Linked DNA regions of Homo sapiens: all the other regions are linked to region 1. The links are contacts of gene promoters, found by promoter capture Hi-C in human tissues and cell types (Jung and others, 2019). All regions are on one chromosome and are shown on one strand. The core of a region is centred on a gene start or on the middle of the fragment in contact, and the rest is flanking DNA. Distances in the headings are between cores, read along the strand shown.

Region 1 (2,700 bases), core at 33-2,532:
CGGGAGGTGGAAGTTGCAGTGAGCCAAGATTGCACCACTGCACTCCAGAATGGGTGACGAGAGCAAAACTCCATTTCAAAAAAAAAAAAAAAAAAAAAAGACAAAAAAAAAGGTAAAAAACTTTCCATGAGCACTCGCAGTGCACTTGGTGTGTGCGCTGCTGTGTGCTAGGCGGAAGGCACATTGGGGAACAAGCCCATTAGACAAACTGAGAGGCTCCAAGCTGCTCGATGGAGGGACAGAGAGAAAGGCTGTCCAAGCTGGGCACAGCGAAGATCAAAGGCCTGGGACTGGAGGGACTTGGCCTGTTTGAGGAAGGCTGAGGGGGTGGAGCCCGGGAAAGAGTGAGTGAGGACAGGCCAGGGGGAAGGAGGTGGTGCGGCAGACCAAACAGTGCAGGCAGCCGGGCGGTGGCTCACACCTGTCATCCCAGCACTTTGGGAGGCCGAGGTGGGTGGATCACCCGAGGTCAGGGGTTTGAGACCAGCCTGGCCAACATGCTGAAAATCCGTCTCTAATAAAAATACAAAAATTAGCCGGGCGTGGTGGCGGGTGCCTGTAATCCCAGCTACTTGGGAGGCTGAGGCAGGAGAATCGCTTGAACCCAGGAGGCGGAGGTTGCAGTGAGCCAAGATGGCACCGCTGTACTCCAGCCTGGGCAACAGAGCAAGACTCCATCTCAAAAAAAAAAAGAAAGAAAGAAAGAAAGAAAGAACGAAAGAAAGAGAAATTCCAGGGTAGGTGGGGTGCAGACGGGACCCTCACGGCAATAGGGAATCACGGCAGGTTCTGGAGCCCAGTGGCTAAGCTTCCTCTGAGGGGCTTCCTCTGAGGGCCACATAAGGAATGGGCCTGGGCTGGGCTGTGGCAGATGTCCAGGTGCAGATGGTGGCGGCCTGGACTAGGGGTGGGGGACGGGGGGCAGAGGAGGCGATGGTAGCTTCCAGAAGGTTCCACACGGAACAACCTGCTGCACTTGGGGTGCCCCTGCGTTTATTGCACGGCACGGCCGTCTCCGCAGGCTCACCCAGGCCGTGGGGACAGGAGGTCCTCGGACACGAAGCGCCCGGGATGCGCACGGAGGGGTTCTGCACCCGCGCTCCCAGTGTCCCCGCACCTGCGCCCACGTGGCCTCTCACACCTGCGGCCCCAGCCGCCGCGCACGCGGCCCAGCGCAGCCCCCGCGCGCCCCCGCCAGGCGCGCCGAGGAGACCGGCGGGCGGTTGCGCGCGGCGGCGGCGCGCACGGCGGAGCCCGGGAGGCGGCGGCGGCGGCGGCGGCGGCGGCGGCGGCTGCTCGTGTCGGCTCCGGGCGGCCCCCGCGCCGCAGCCCGCGCCGTGTCCGCGGCGGAGCCGCCCAGGTGAGTGGCCGTGCCGGGGCCCGGCGTGGGGCGCGCCCGCAGACCTGGGGACCCCTCACCTGCACCCTGCGACCCTGCCGCCCAAAGCCCCCAACCCGCGACCCCATCCTCAGCCGGGGGAAATTGCCCCGCGCACCCCTCCCGGGCTCATCGCTCCTTGCCAGGCCCCCGACGCTCCCCCTGGAAACTTTGGGGGCGAACTCCCCACCCTGGGGCCCCCCGCCCCTCCTCTGGGGCGCCAAGGAGCGGGGAATCGGGTGGGCATCTCCCCGGGGCACTGGGGACGCTGGGAGGATGCGCTCCTCTCCAGGAGGAGATGAAGGGGGCACTGGTTGGGTCTGGGGTGTGGGGAACGTCCGAATAGAGCCTGCAGCCCGCGCCTTCCTGCCCTGTCTCCCCCGAGCCGGGTCTGGTCCAGCCTGGGGGTGCGGAGCTGGAAGACGCAAAGGGTATCTGGGGTCCACACCGGAGCCTGCTCCATCGCTGGAGCTGACGGCCCGGCCTGGCGGGGAGGGACCTGGGGGCATAGGGCTGAGTCCCCCTGCTCTGGGGGCGTCTGAATAGCACCAGAAATGGTGGGCCTGGGCACCCTGAGTGGGTGCCGCCACCTCCCGGGCCTCTGGGGCCTGGCCAGGGGAGGCCCTGAGTCCCATTCAACAAGTTTAGGGGAGCAGCACCTCGTGCCTTGGTCCGGGCACAAGAAAAGCCCCGGGTCCTTACGCTGGAGACCACCATGTAACTGGGTTTCTCAACGTGTGCTTGGGGCGCTAACGGTGCCGGTGTCCCGGCCCCCCCAGTTCTGAGGAGTCAGAACTTCTGAGGCGATGTGCCCCAGAAGCTGCATTTTAGCAAGCGGTCCCTGGCTAAACCATGGACGCAGCGAGGCTGCAGACACCCTTGCTCCGGCGGGGGTGGGGAGCGGGCGTCTGCTGTGCAGTGGTATTTGCAGAGGGACGATCTGGGGCTTGGCTGGGGGGAGCCTTCAGGGACAACAGAGCTGTGAGAACCAGAGCAACCCAGGAGGGCTCCCTGGAAGTGGCCTGGAGAGGATGCAGAAGGTGTGAGGTGTGAGTGGTCAGGTGGAGGACGCAGGCTGGAAACAGGTTCAGGGAGGGTGGTGCTGGCTTTATCAGGAGGCTGGTGTGGGGTGGGCTGCCGCGGCATGGCCTTACCCTGGCTGTTCTCTGAGCCGAAGCAGCAGCCATCGTCGGAGACAGGATCTGAGTGGGAAGAACCCACGGGCTTCCCCTGTAGACCCAGCTCCTGTCCCCATCTCGATGATGTGGGGTGGCAGGAAGGGGGCAGCCGGGCGGTGGGATGGGGGCTTAGGAGGGTTCAAC
Region 2 (2,700 bases), core at 5-2,504, 760 kb after region 1:
AAAAAATTAGCCGGGCGTGGTGGCGGGCACCTGTAGTCCCAGCTACTCGGGAGGCTGAGGCAGGAGACTCGTTTGAACCTGGGAGGCGGTGGTTGCACTGAGCCTAGAACACACCACTGCACTCTCGCCTGGGCAACAGAGTGAGACTCCATCTCAAAACAAAAACAAAACAAAACAAAACAAAACAAAAACGGGTGTGGTGGCTCACGCCTGTAATCACAGCACTTTGAGAGTCCAAGGCAGGTGAATCACGAGGTCAGGAGTTCGACAGCAGCCTGGCCAACATAGTGGAACCCCATCTCTACTAAAAATACAAAAATTAGTCGGGCGTGGTGGTGGGCGCCTGTAATCCCAGCTACTCCGGAGGCTGAGGCAGGAGAATCGCTTGAACCCCAGAGGCTGCAGTGAGCTGAGATCACAAAATTGCACTCCAGCCTGGGGTGCATTAAGGACACTCCATCTCTAAAAAACATATAAGTAAGATTTCACATGGATACAATCCATCAATCTTACTCAGGATTCCTCAGTTTAACTTGTGATCGTGTGTGTGAGTGTGTGAGATGTCTTTAGTCTCCTATAATTTGCTGGCCTGGGTAGATTCGTGTATCCACCATCATGACATGGAGCATTTCCATCACCATCAGGATCTCTTGCTGTTTGTGCACCCTCCCCGCACCCTCATCCCTAACCCTAATTCCATTTCTAAAATGTTACATAAACTTTTTTTGTTCTTTACACAGGGTCTTGCTCTGTTGCCCAGGCTGGACTCCAGTGGTGCAACTACAGCTCACTGCAACCTACATGAACTCCTGGGTTCAAGGCATCCTCCTGCCTCAGTCGCCCAAGCAGCTAGGACTACAGGTGTGCATCATCATCCTTGGCTTATTTATTTATTTATTTATTTATTTATTTTGAGACGTAGTCTTGCTCTGTCGCCCAGGCTGGGGTGCGGTGGCGCCATCTCGGCTCACTGCAAGCTCCGTCTCCCCGGGTTCACGCCATTCTCCTGCCTCAGCCTCCCGAGTAGCTGGGACGACAGGCACCCGCCACCACGCCCGGCTAATTTTTTGTATTTTTAGTAGAGACAGGGTTTCACCGTGTTAGCCAGGATGGTCTCGATCTCCTGACCTCCTGATCCGCCCGCCTCGGCCTCCCAAAGTGCTGGGATTATAGGCGTGAGCCACCGCGCCTGGCCTTAATTTTCTAATTTTTTATAGAGATGGGGTCTCACTATGTTCCCCAGGGTGGTCTGGAACTCCTGGGCTCAGGTGATCCTCCCACCTCAGCCAACTGAGTAGCTGGGACCACAGGCACACCCCACTATGCCCGGCTAATTTTTTTTTTTTTTTTTTTTTCCCGAGACGGAGTCTCACTCTGTCACCCAGGCTGGAGTGCAGTGGCGTGATCTAGGCTCACTGCAACCTCCGCCTCCGTGGTGAAAGTGATTCTCCTCCCTCAGCTCCCCGAGTAGCTGGGACTACAGGCGCCCGCCACCACGCCCGGCTAATTTTTGTATTTTTAGTAGAGATGGGGTTTCACCATGTTGGCCAGGCTGGTCTCGATCTCTTGACCTTGTGACCCGGCTGCCTCGACCTCCTTAAGTGCGGGGATTACAGGCGTGGGCCACCGCGCCCGGCCGGGACAGGCTTTTTTCACTCAGCGTAATTCTCTGGAGTCATCAGGAGTTTGAAAACTCCCCGTGGGACCCAGGTTGACCTACCTACCAGCACCCCATTTTTTCATAGATTGAGAACCAGCGCCTCAGTGTCCCCATCTGTATAGTGGGAGAGAAAAGGTCCCTGCTCCCGGGGCCTTGCCAAGGTGCAAGGAAGCTTTATGACGTCACACACAGTTACCACGGGCAACAGCCAATCCTGCTGGCCCCAGAGGTAGCCGCCCTTGGTCCCGCCCACGCCTTGCTTGCTTGCTGGTGATTGGAGGACGCATGATGTCACGTGCTCCCATAGACCAATGAGGAGGTGGTCTGGAGGCTGGGTTCAGCTGTAGCCTCAGCGTGGGAAAAAGGGTAAAACGGAACTTTGGGGCCGGGCGCTGGGGCTCACGCCTGTAATACCAGCACTTTGGGAGGCCGAGGCGGGTGGATCCCCTGAGGTCGGGAGTTCGAGACCAGCCTGGCCAACATGGTGAAACCCCGTCTCTACTAAAAGTAGAAAATTTATCCGGGCATGATGACGCCTGTAGTACCAGCTACTTGGGATCCTGAGGCACGAGAAAAATCTCCTGAACCAGGGAGTCGGAAGCTGCAGTGAGCCGAGAGCACGCCACTGCACTCCAGCCTGAGTGACAAGAGCGAGACTTTGTCTTAAAAAATAAAACTGAGCTTTGGAAATTCTTGCCAGGACAAGTTTTCCCTCTCTCAGGGTTAAATCAGTGGTTTCCAAAAAGAAAAAGAAGGAGAAGGAAGGAGGAGGAGAAAGAGGAAGAGAAGGGAGTAGGGAGAAGAAGGAAGAAGAAGGGAAGAAAGAAAAAAAAATCTTTGAGCCAGGGCTGGAGTGAATTCATGACCATTTCTTGAAGTTCCAACCCTTGTAAGCACCCAAAAAAGTGAGGCTATTAATTTTATTTCTGGCAGCACACAGTTCACCCGTCTAAGGAAGATTCCAGAAACTTTAGCACGAGGGCGGTGTGGGTGCTTTGCCATCTCTGGAAGTTCTTATACCTAGAAATAAGAATTGGCCC
Region 3 (2,700 bases), core at 64-2,563, 660 kb after region 1:
TATTTTATTTTACTTATTTATTTATTTATTTTGAGACGGAGTTTCGTCCTTGTTGCCCAGGCTGGAGTACAATGGCGTGCTCTCGGCTCATTGCAACCTCCGCCTTTCGGGTGAAAGCGATTCTGCTGCCTCAGCCTCCCGAGTAGCTAGGACTACAGGTGCCCGCCACCATGCCCGGCTAATTTTTGTATTTTTAGTAGAGATGGGGTTTCACCGTGTTGGCCAGAGAGGTCTCGAACTCCTGACTTCAGGTGATCTGCCCGCCTTGGCCTCCCAAAGTGCTGGGAATACAAGCGTGGGCCACCGCGTCCGGTCAACTTTTTAAATTATTATTTTAAATTATTTTAAATATTTTTAGAGACGGGTGTGGGTGGGGGGGGTTTCACTATGTTGTTCAGGCTGTTCTCGAACTCCTGGCCTCAAGCGATCTTCCCGCCTCGGCCTCCTTCAAAGCGCTGGGATCACAGGCAGGAGCCACGGCGCCCGATCCTAGGCGGGGTCACTTTTTACTAAAATGTAGACACGGACTACTAAGAATCAGGAAGCCAGATCTGGCCTGAGTTCTGTCCAAAGTCAGGTCCAAATTCACAGATGCCGAGACGGAGACTCAAGTCGGCAAAGGCACCGCTGAGACTCCCCGCGGGGCTCTCTGACCCAGAGCCGGAGCCAGAGTCGGTTTTCCCGCCGGGAAAATGGGTCTGACGTAGCCCCCTCGGGGCCGTGATACCCGCTCGCACCACTCAGCACGCGGGGCCGGCCCGAGGAACGCAAATATAACCAAGCAGAAGGCTCCGCGCGGGCGGCCACGCCAACCTGAGAACAAAACTCCAGGACCCACCCCGGCCGCCTCTCGCGGCCTCTCGCTCGCAGAGTCCCGCCTCTGCTGAGGGGCGGGGCCGAGAAGAAAGGAGGCGGGGCCTCACCACGAATGGCTAGGATCCCCGCCCATCAGACTTTCGCGGCTTCCGATTGACCAGACTGCTCTGCCTTAGCTTTCAATCTCACGGGCCTTACTCGCTTGCGTCATGGACTAAGCGCACAGCTCGTGTGTGCTTCCGCGGACGGGGATAGTCCGTGATTTCTCCCCGCGCCGTGGCCCGACCGCCTCCTCTGCGCGTCCCCGCTCCCAGGCTCTGGACCTCACGGGATTCGGGGTCCTCACGAGGGTGCTCGAGAGGCCGAGCTAGGGCGTTCGGGCCCGAGCCGCCCGGAGGTGGCGGAGGGATCCGCGTGGGCCGCCGGGCGGGGCACTCGGGGGCGGGGCAGGGGCGGGGCCTGCACGGGGCGGGGCGGGGCGGCGCGGGCGGGGGGCGGAACATGTCTCCCGCCGCAGGAAGATGAGGCAGCGGCGGCGGCTGCGGGCGTAGCGGGCCGGAGCCGACGCGGCGGCGGGCACCGCGGGCACCGCGCACGCCGCTGCCCCAGGGGCGCCCCGGCCGGCCGCGCGCACGGGCCCCGCGGGACGGGCCACGCGGGGGTGGGAGGGGCCCGGGCCACGCGCGCCGCCGCCGCCGCCCACGCGCGACCCTCGGGGGCCCGGCCGCGACGCACCTTTGTCCGGGGGGGGGCCCCCCCGCTTCATGCCGCCGCCCCCCCCCACGCGCCGCGTGCCCGGCCGCGCCCAGCAGGTGAGCCCGGCGGGGGGCGGGGGGCGCGCCCGGTACCCCCGTGCTTTGTGCCCAGGGAACCCCGGCCCGCCCCGCGCGCGCTTGTTGGGGGGGGGCGCGGAGGAAGTTGGGGCGGGGGCGGTGTCGGGGGGCGCCCCGCGGCCCGGGAGTCATTGTTCTCCAACTTCGCGCGGCGCCGGGGGGGCGGCGACGTGGAGGAGCCCGGAGCTCGCCAGGCCCGCGTCGCCCCCGTCGGGCCGGGCACTTCGGGAAACTTTAAGCAGCCCCGGGCGGGGGCGCGGGGGGCGCCGGACGGGCTGTGCAACTTAGGCGCGAGGACCGTCCCCCCCAGCCCGGGCGCACGGGGACCCCGGGGCGCCCCCTTTCTCGGGTAGAGGGGGGCCCGGCCCGGGCGCCGGAGTTTGGGGTGGGGAGCGCGCGGGAGGGACGTCCTTTTGTCTGCGCGGGGAAGGTGCCGCGCGCTGCAGGCGCTGGTCGGGGCCGGGCGGGCCGGGGGGGGGCGCGCGGGTAACATCTGCTCCGCGTTAATGCGGGGCGAGGCGGCGGCCGCGCTGCGAGCTTCAAAGGCTCCCGGGCCGCACCGCCTGCACCGGCTGCGGGGGGAGGGGGGTCCGGCTTCCCGGGCCGCCTCCCCCCGGGAAAAAGGCGTTCCAGCGCGCCCCCCGCCTTCGGCGCCGTGCAAAGTGGCTTCAAACATTCTCCAAGTCTCTCAAAGTCCTTGGGACGCCCCAGAAGTCTTCCAGCTCCCGTAGAATGCCCGTTTTAGCTCGCCACCCCCCCAACTAAGTCTGTCTTAAAATCGGTTTCAGCTACCCCACAAAAAAGTGCGGTTTCGTAGTCCTCAAAAAAAGTCAGTTTCACACGCCCTCCAAAAAAGAAAAAAACTGAGCGGGGGAGGGGCTGCGCTGGGGCGCCCGCTTCACACCCGGCCTCCAGTTGGCAGACAAAGAGGGGATTTCTCTGCTTCTGAAGTTGGGTCTCCCTCGACCTCGGAGGCTCCTCCCCACCCCCAGCCTCGGAGGTGTCTCCCGGGCTGCCCCCGTCCCCACCTGGGGACCCCTGGGGAAAGTCG
Region 4 (2,700 bases), core at 1-2,500, 780 kb after region 1:
TGTAGCAGCGGCTGAAGGCGCCCTGTGGGGAGGGGTCAGCAGATCAGTGGGCAGGTGTGCACGGGTGTGCAAGCTGGCAGCGCGTACAGAGGCACAGGGCAGCCAGGGACGCAGGCGCGTCCAGGTCTCTCCACACACACACCGGGGAAAAAACAACACACAGCTCCCACCCTCCCGCCTGGACACACAAGACATGATGCACACAAGAAGGCACAGAGACACAGACACAGACACATCCACGCCTGGTGCATAGAGGCCACGGACCAGAAGACAGCACCGGATGCACAACACCACGCCTGAATACGACACACAAACACGCAACGCCCAGACACAGAGTCACCATGCATGGACACACAACACAACACCCAGATACACAACGCAGCAACACACAAACACATGAATATACAATGTCTGGACACACAGTCACCACGTGTGGACACACAACACAATACCCAGACACAGCACAGGAACACACAAACACATGAACACACAACACCTGGACACACAGTACAACACATGGACAAAGACACAGATACAAACACATGAACACACAACTCCTAGACACACCACATATGAACACACAAACACACAAGCACACCACATGAACACACAACACCCAGACACACAACACAATGACTGGACACACAAAGGCATGACGCACAAACAACAGGTGAACAAGCAACACAACACCCAGACACACACACACACACACACACACACACACACGAACACCGCACAGCACCCAGACACTTGGAAGCAGCGGGCACAGACGCGGCACACTCAGACCCTCGCCAGGCTCGCACACACACCCAGGGGCAACACAGCGTCGCATCCCGAGGCCGAGCCGCACGCCCACACCCCGGACACGCAACCCACGGACACGACGCACAGCGCGCTCAACACGGTTCCCGCCATGCGAAACCCCGCACGGGAGGCCCCGCGGCTCCGGACGCGCGCCCGCTCCAGACCCCGCGCTCGCAGGGACGCGCCGCGTAGACCGCGCAGGATCGCCCGCGCGCCCCGGGACCCCAGCCCAGCCCGGTCCGGCCCCGTCGCGGACTCGGGGCGCGGGCCTCCCACCTTGCCGATCAGCTTCCCGCGCCTGTACACGCGGCCCGAGCCCGGGTCTCGCAGGAAGGCGGCGACCAGGGGGCGACTCCTGCGCCGCCGCCGCGGCCGGGGCTCCATCGCGCGGACTCTGGCGCAGCCGGGCCGAGACCACCGCGCTGCGGCCGCTCCGGGGCCGCTCTGAGGGCGCAGGAGCCGCCGGGGAGCGTTTTATTGGCCGCGGGGGCGGGGAGGGGGCGGAGCCCGGGCGCAGGTCCAGCCCGGGGAGGGGCGGGAGGTGCCCGGCCGTGGAGTGGGGGGCGCGTGAGCGGCGGGGACGCCGCGGCTGGGGAAGTTCCACGGACCAGAGCGCGCCCGAGTCCCGCACGCCAACCGGGCGCCAGGGGCCGCGCTCAGCCCGCGAGCTCCTCCGACCCTGCACACCCGGGCTGGCTGGGAACCGCTGATACGCCCGCTTTACCGAGCGGGAAACTGAGGCTCTCTCGCGCGTGGGGGGTTGGGGGCTTCCGGGGGCTTCTCCCCCACAGTGCGCTTGAGGTATGAGCCTCGACGTTCTGAATGTGTGCCATTTCGGGTCCTCCCTGCTGGCGGGTCCCTGGGGCCCACATGAAAACCTGGGGCTTGATGGCCCTGGGCACTGGGGAGCCACAGCAGAATTCGGAGCGGCAGAGAAGCCCAGCGTTTGTGATGCTGGGGCTGGTGGGGAGGGCGGTGAGGCCTGGGACAGGGACCCAGGAGGCAGGACCGGGGCTTGGGGACGCATGGGCTGGGGTCCTACAGTGTAGTGGATGTCCCATATGAGGGAGCTTCAGCCCGGAGAAGGGATGGGCTGTGTGGAGCAGCAGGTGGACCCTGGCTGGGGTTTGCACGGACAGCCAGGTGGGGACGTCCTTGAAATGGCGACCTCAGAGAGCATCAGAAACCTCAGAGAACTCAGAGAACAGCTGGGTGGGAAGACAGTGGGGGGCTTGAGACTCCCCCGGAATCGTGGGGGTGGTTGCTCCAAGCCCTGCCCCAGACTCAGGTGCACCCCTTTCCTGGTGAGGTCTTCCCTCACCCTTCCACCCAGCCTGGGACACAAAAACGGGCCTTGTCCCCATTGTACAGGCAAGACATTGAGACCCAGGGACGCAAAGTCGCTCAGTCAGCCCAGGAAAGGGCAGCGCTGGGTTTGAATCCCGGCAGCCGCCCCTGGACGCCTGCGGTATTAATCCCCAAATGTTACATAACACCAGGAATGGGGAGGGGTTACCAGGCTCCGTGGGGCTGGAATTTTCCAGGGACCAGATTTCGGAATCTGGCCCGGCCACACCACTAGGGACAGGAAACACCTTCTGAGCCGTCACGTGTCCACCTGGTGTCACGAATGGGGCCCCCGTGCATTGGACGGGGCTGAGCTCGGGCACCTTTGCGGGGTTTCTGGTCCCAGGGCCAGGGCGGAAGATTCCTGGCCAGCCTGGGGCCACCGGGTTGCAGCTGGGGAGCCCAAGTCCCCTGCTGATGAGAATCAGGTGAGGTGGCTGCAAGGTGGGCTGCTCGGGGCCCGAGTGTCTGAGCTGTCACACGACTGTCACCCTGGAATCCTCCAGGGGCAGAAAGCCAGTTCCTTGCTTTTTTTTTTGTTTGTTTGTT
Region 5 (2,700 bases), core at 27-2,526, 670 kb before region 1:
GGGGATTGCTTGTAAAACATCAACCAAATACATGATGTGTTCCTGTGTTTTTATCACATATGTGATTAGATGCTACATTTTTTTTTAGATGGGATCTCACTGTCACCAAGGATGGAGTGCAGTGGCACCATCATAGTTCACTGCAGCCTCAAACTCCTTGGGCTCAAGCCAACCCTCTGCCTCAGCCTCCCAAGTAGCTGCAACTACAGGCCCACGTCACTAGGCCCAGCTGATTCTTCTAGTTTTATTTTTTACAGAGACAGGGTCTCACTACGTTGTCCAGGCTGGTTTCAAACTCCTGGGCTCAAGTGGTCCTCCTGCCTCGGCCTCCAAAAATGTTGAGATTACAGTTGTGAGCCACAGTGTCCAGCCTACACTTAATTTTTTTTAAAAAACACGGCTCCTTGGCACCTGTCTTGAGTGTAGCAGCGACCAGTATTGTCTTCAGCTGCGAGGCCTGGGCGGGGCCAGCCCAGGTCACAGGTGGAAAAGGGGCAGAACCACATTGGGCCCGGGTTTCCCTTGAGGGCTGATCCCACCACATGCCCTCCTCACCGAAGTGCTTTTCGGGGGGCCCTTGGGTCTGGGCTGGTCCCTAGAGGTCATCTTCAAGGCAGTAGCCTCCAAGACTTTAGCCAGAGTCTAAAACAACAAGGAGACGGCAGGTCTTGAGGGACAGAAAATAAGGCAGTGCCAGGGAAGCAAGGCACCCGTTACCCCACCCGCACCTCCCAGTTTGGTAAGTCTCCAGGGACCCAATCCTGCGGTTCTCCCATGCGTTCCCTAGGTCCTGTCCTCACTTATCAATGCCTCCAGCTGCCCAGATTCATGGGGGCGGGGACCCAGAAAGAACTGAGCCTTGCCTCCCAGGCCTCACCCTAGGAGGCTGGGGTGGATAGTGCACATACACTCCCTGCTGGGGGCAGTCAGGGACGGGGGAGCCCAGGGAAGGTCGCCAAAGCTCAACCTTAGTTTTGAGACAATTTCCTAAAGCGCAGGGAGATCACTAGAAAGGGGTTTTGAAGGATGACTAGGAGTTAGCCAGGTGCATTAGGCGGAATTCATCAGACAGAAGAAACGACCTCTCTCCACCTCCATCCCTGCTGCAGCACCCAGCTTCTTCCTTGCCTCAGTCCTGCCCCTCCACGCCCCTGCAGCCCCTTCCCCGGCCGGGAATCCTGGAGTCCCCCCAGCCCCCTAGAACACGCCTGGCAACTCACGTCCCTCACCGGGCGGAAGCTGCGGAGGTCAGCCAAGTTCAGGCCAAGAGGAAACTCCTCCTTCCCCCACCGGGGGCCATTTGACCCATCGGGCCCCGCCTCGTCCCGCCTTGTCCCCGCCCCGTCCCGCCCAGGCCCCACCCAGCCGCCACCTGGACCGCGAAGCAGATCAATGAAGGCGCAGTAGCTGCACGTGGGTTCGGGCTCCGGGGGGGGCAGGCCTCTGGCGGCGCCGGCCAATAGCGAGGCCGTTTACGCACGTGGGTCGCGTACGCCCTCCCTGATTGGTCGGCTCTCCCCGGCCGCCGGCCATGCTGTCACTCAGCGAGCCGGGAGCCTCTGCTTTACCCTTTCGGTCCCGCTGCCGGGAAGGGCGGACTTGCAGAGCTATAGGCAATTTGGGGTCCCAGCGGGGGCGGGGATATTTAGGAGGGCGTGGGGCTTGAGGCTCAGAGGCTGGAACTTGGGCAGGGATAGGTGGCGAGTAGTTGCATTGTTTTACGCATTTTTAGCCTTGTCCGGAAGTGGCTTATGGCTGGAGGTGAGGAGTGGGAGGTGGGTGGGTTCAATCTTTAGCGCTGTCACCCCAATTCTTAGATACGGGCTAATTACATTTTCCTCAATATTAAATAACGTGCAATGCAAACGAAGCTTCAAGTCCTCTTTCTGGAGCCAACTTACTGGGTCCCCTTGATGGTCCCAGCCCCGGGCTATGCATTTATCACCGAATTTTCCCAACTGCTCTTCCAGCCCAGTGACAAAGGCTCTGAGAGCAGAAAGCGGGACAGCAGAGGCCCTGAGGCTGATACAGTATTGCCGGATGCAAGCGCGGGGTGGGAGAGAGTGGTGGGTATTCCAGACGGAGGGAATAGCGGAACCTCTCAGGCAGAGCTGGGCTGGTTACAGGAGCAGCCAGGGAGGCTAACGGGGCTGCGTGCACTCCGAACAGGCCTGGGATGATTTCCGAGAGGTAAGTGGGTTGCTGCAGAGCGAGAGAAACCTGCTGTGTGGGGTCGTGGGGATAGGAGTAAGGGGATTTCGGAGTTTTGTTTTGGCCTATTCAAAATATGAAGCCAAGTCACCATGGCTCACACCTGTGATCCCAGCATTTTGGAAGGCTGAGGTGGGAGGATTGCTTGAGGCCAGGAGTTGGAGACCAGCCTGGGCAACACAGTGACACCGCGTCTCTACAAAAAATTTAAAAATTAGCCAAGTGTGGTGGTCATGCACCTGTAGTCTCAGCTACTGGGGAGGCTGAGGCAGGAGGATGGCGTAAGCCCAGGAGGTTGAGTCTGGAGTGAGCTATGATCGTGCCACTGCACTCCAGTCTGAGCAACAGAGCAAGACTCCATCTCAAAAAAATATATAGCTATAATATATATAAAGTATATATATTATATATATAGTGGTCAAGCTGCAGTTCTGGAGTGAGAGCCCGTTTCTTTCTGTTTGGCCCAGGACCTGGTACTGGCATTAGCAG

What was found. Contacts are between HindIII fragments. The study calls those that stand out against the background at their distance.
Region 2: a fragment that was not itself captured here is called in contact with the fragment with the promoter of LINGO3 in region 1 in 1 of the 25 tissues and cell types used here (pancreas).
Region 3: the fragment with the promoter of TCF3 here is called in contact with the fragment with the promoter of LINGO3 in region 1 in 2 of the 25 tissues and cell types used here (adrenal gland and spleen).
Region 4: a contact is called between the fragment with the promoter of PLK5 here and the fragment with the promoter of LINGO3 in region 1, in 2 of the 25 tissues and cell types used here (lymphoblastoid cells and spleen).
Region 5: a contact is called between the fragment with the promoter of TLE6 here and the fragment with the promoter of LINGO3 in region 1, in 2 of the 25 tissues and cell types used here (dorsolateral prefrontal cortex and psoas muscle).

What each region holds. Positions count from the first base shown.
Region 1 is chr19:2,306,736-2,309,435 of GRCh38, reverse strand. LINGO3 (leucine rich repeat and Ig domain containing 3) reads left to right here and starts at 1,282. Exons shown (of 2, transcript NM_001101391.3): 1 at 1,282-1,360. The HindIII fragment of the contact is 18,961 bases long and covers 1-2,700 here.
Region 2 is chr19:1,542,006-1,544,705 of GRCh38, reverse strand. No RefSeq gene overlaps it. Among named protein-coding and RNA genes, the nearest start is that of PLK5, 19 kb to the right of the region's middle. The HindIII fragment of the contact is 4,742 bases long and covers 1-2,700 here.
Region 3 is chr19:1,651,228-1,653,927 of GRCh38, reverse strand. TCF3 (transcription factor 3) reads left to right here and starts at 1,313. Exons shown (of 19, transcript NM_003200.5): 1 at 1,313-1,628. RefSeq lists enhancers at 575-684, 805-854 and silencers at 1,145-1,194, 1,205-1,334, 1,865-1,944, 2,035-2,264, 2,072-2,294 and 1 more. The HindIII fragment of the contact is 17,847 bases long and covers 1-2,700 here.
Region 4 is chr19:1,522,627-1,525,326 of GRCh38, reverse strand. PLK5 (polo like kinase 5 (inactive)) reads right to left here and starts at 1,250. Exons shown (of 14, transcript NM_001243079.2): 1 at 1,081-1,250; 2 at 1-22. The HindIII fragment of the contact is 15,366 bases long and covers 1-2,700 here.
Region 5 is chr19:2,976,140-2,978,839 of GRCh38, reverse strand. It overlaps TLE6 (TLE family member 6, subcortical maternal complex member), which reads right to left and starts at 1,276. Exons shown (of 17, transcript NM_001143986.2): 1 at 1,230-1,276; 2 at 556-642. The coding sequence starts at 606. RefSeq lists a silencer at 1,245-1,554. The HindIII fragment of the contact is 31,192 bases long and covers 1-2,700 here.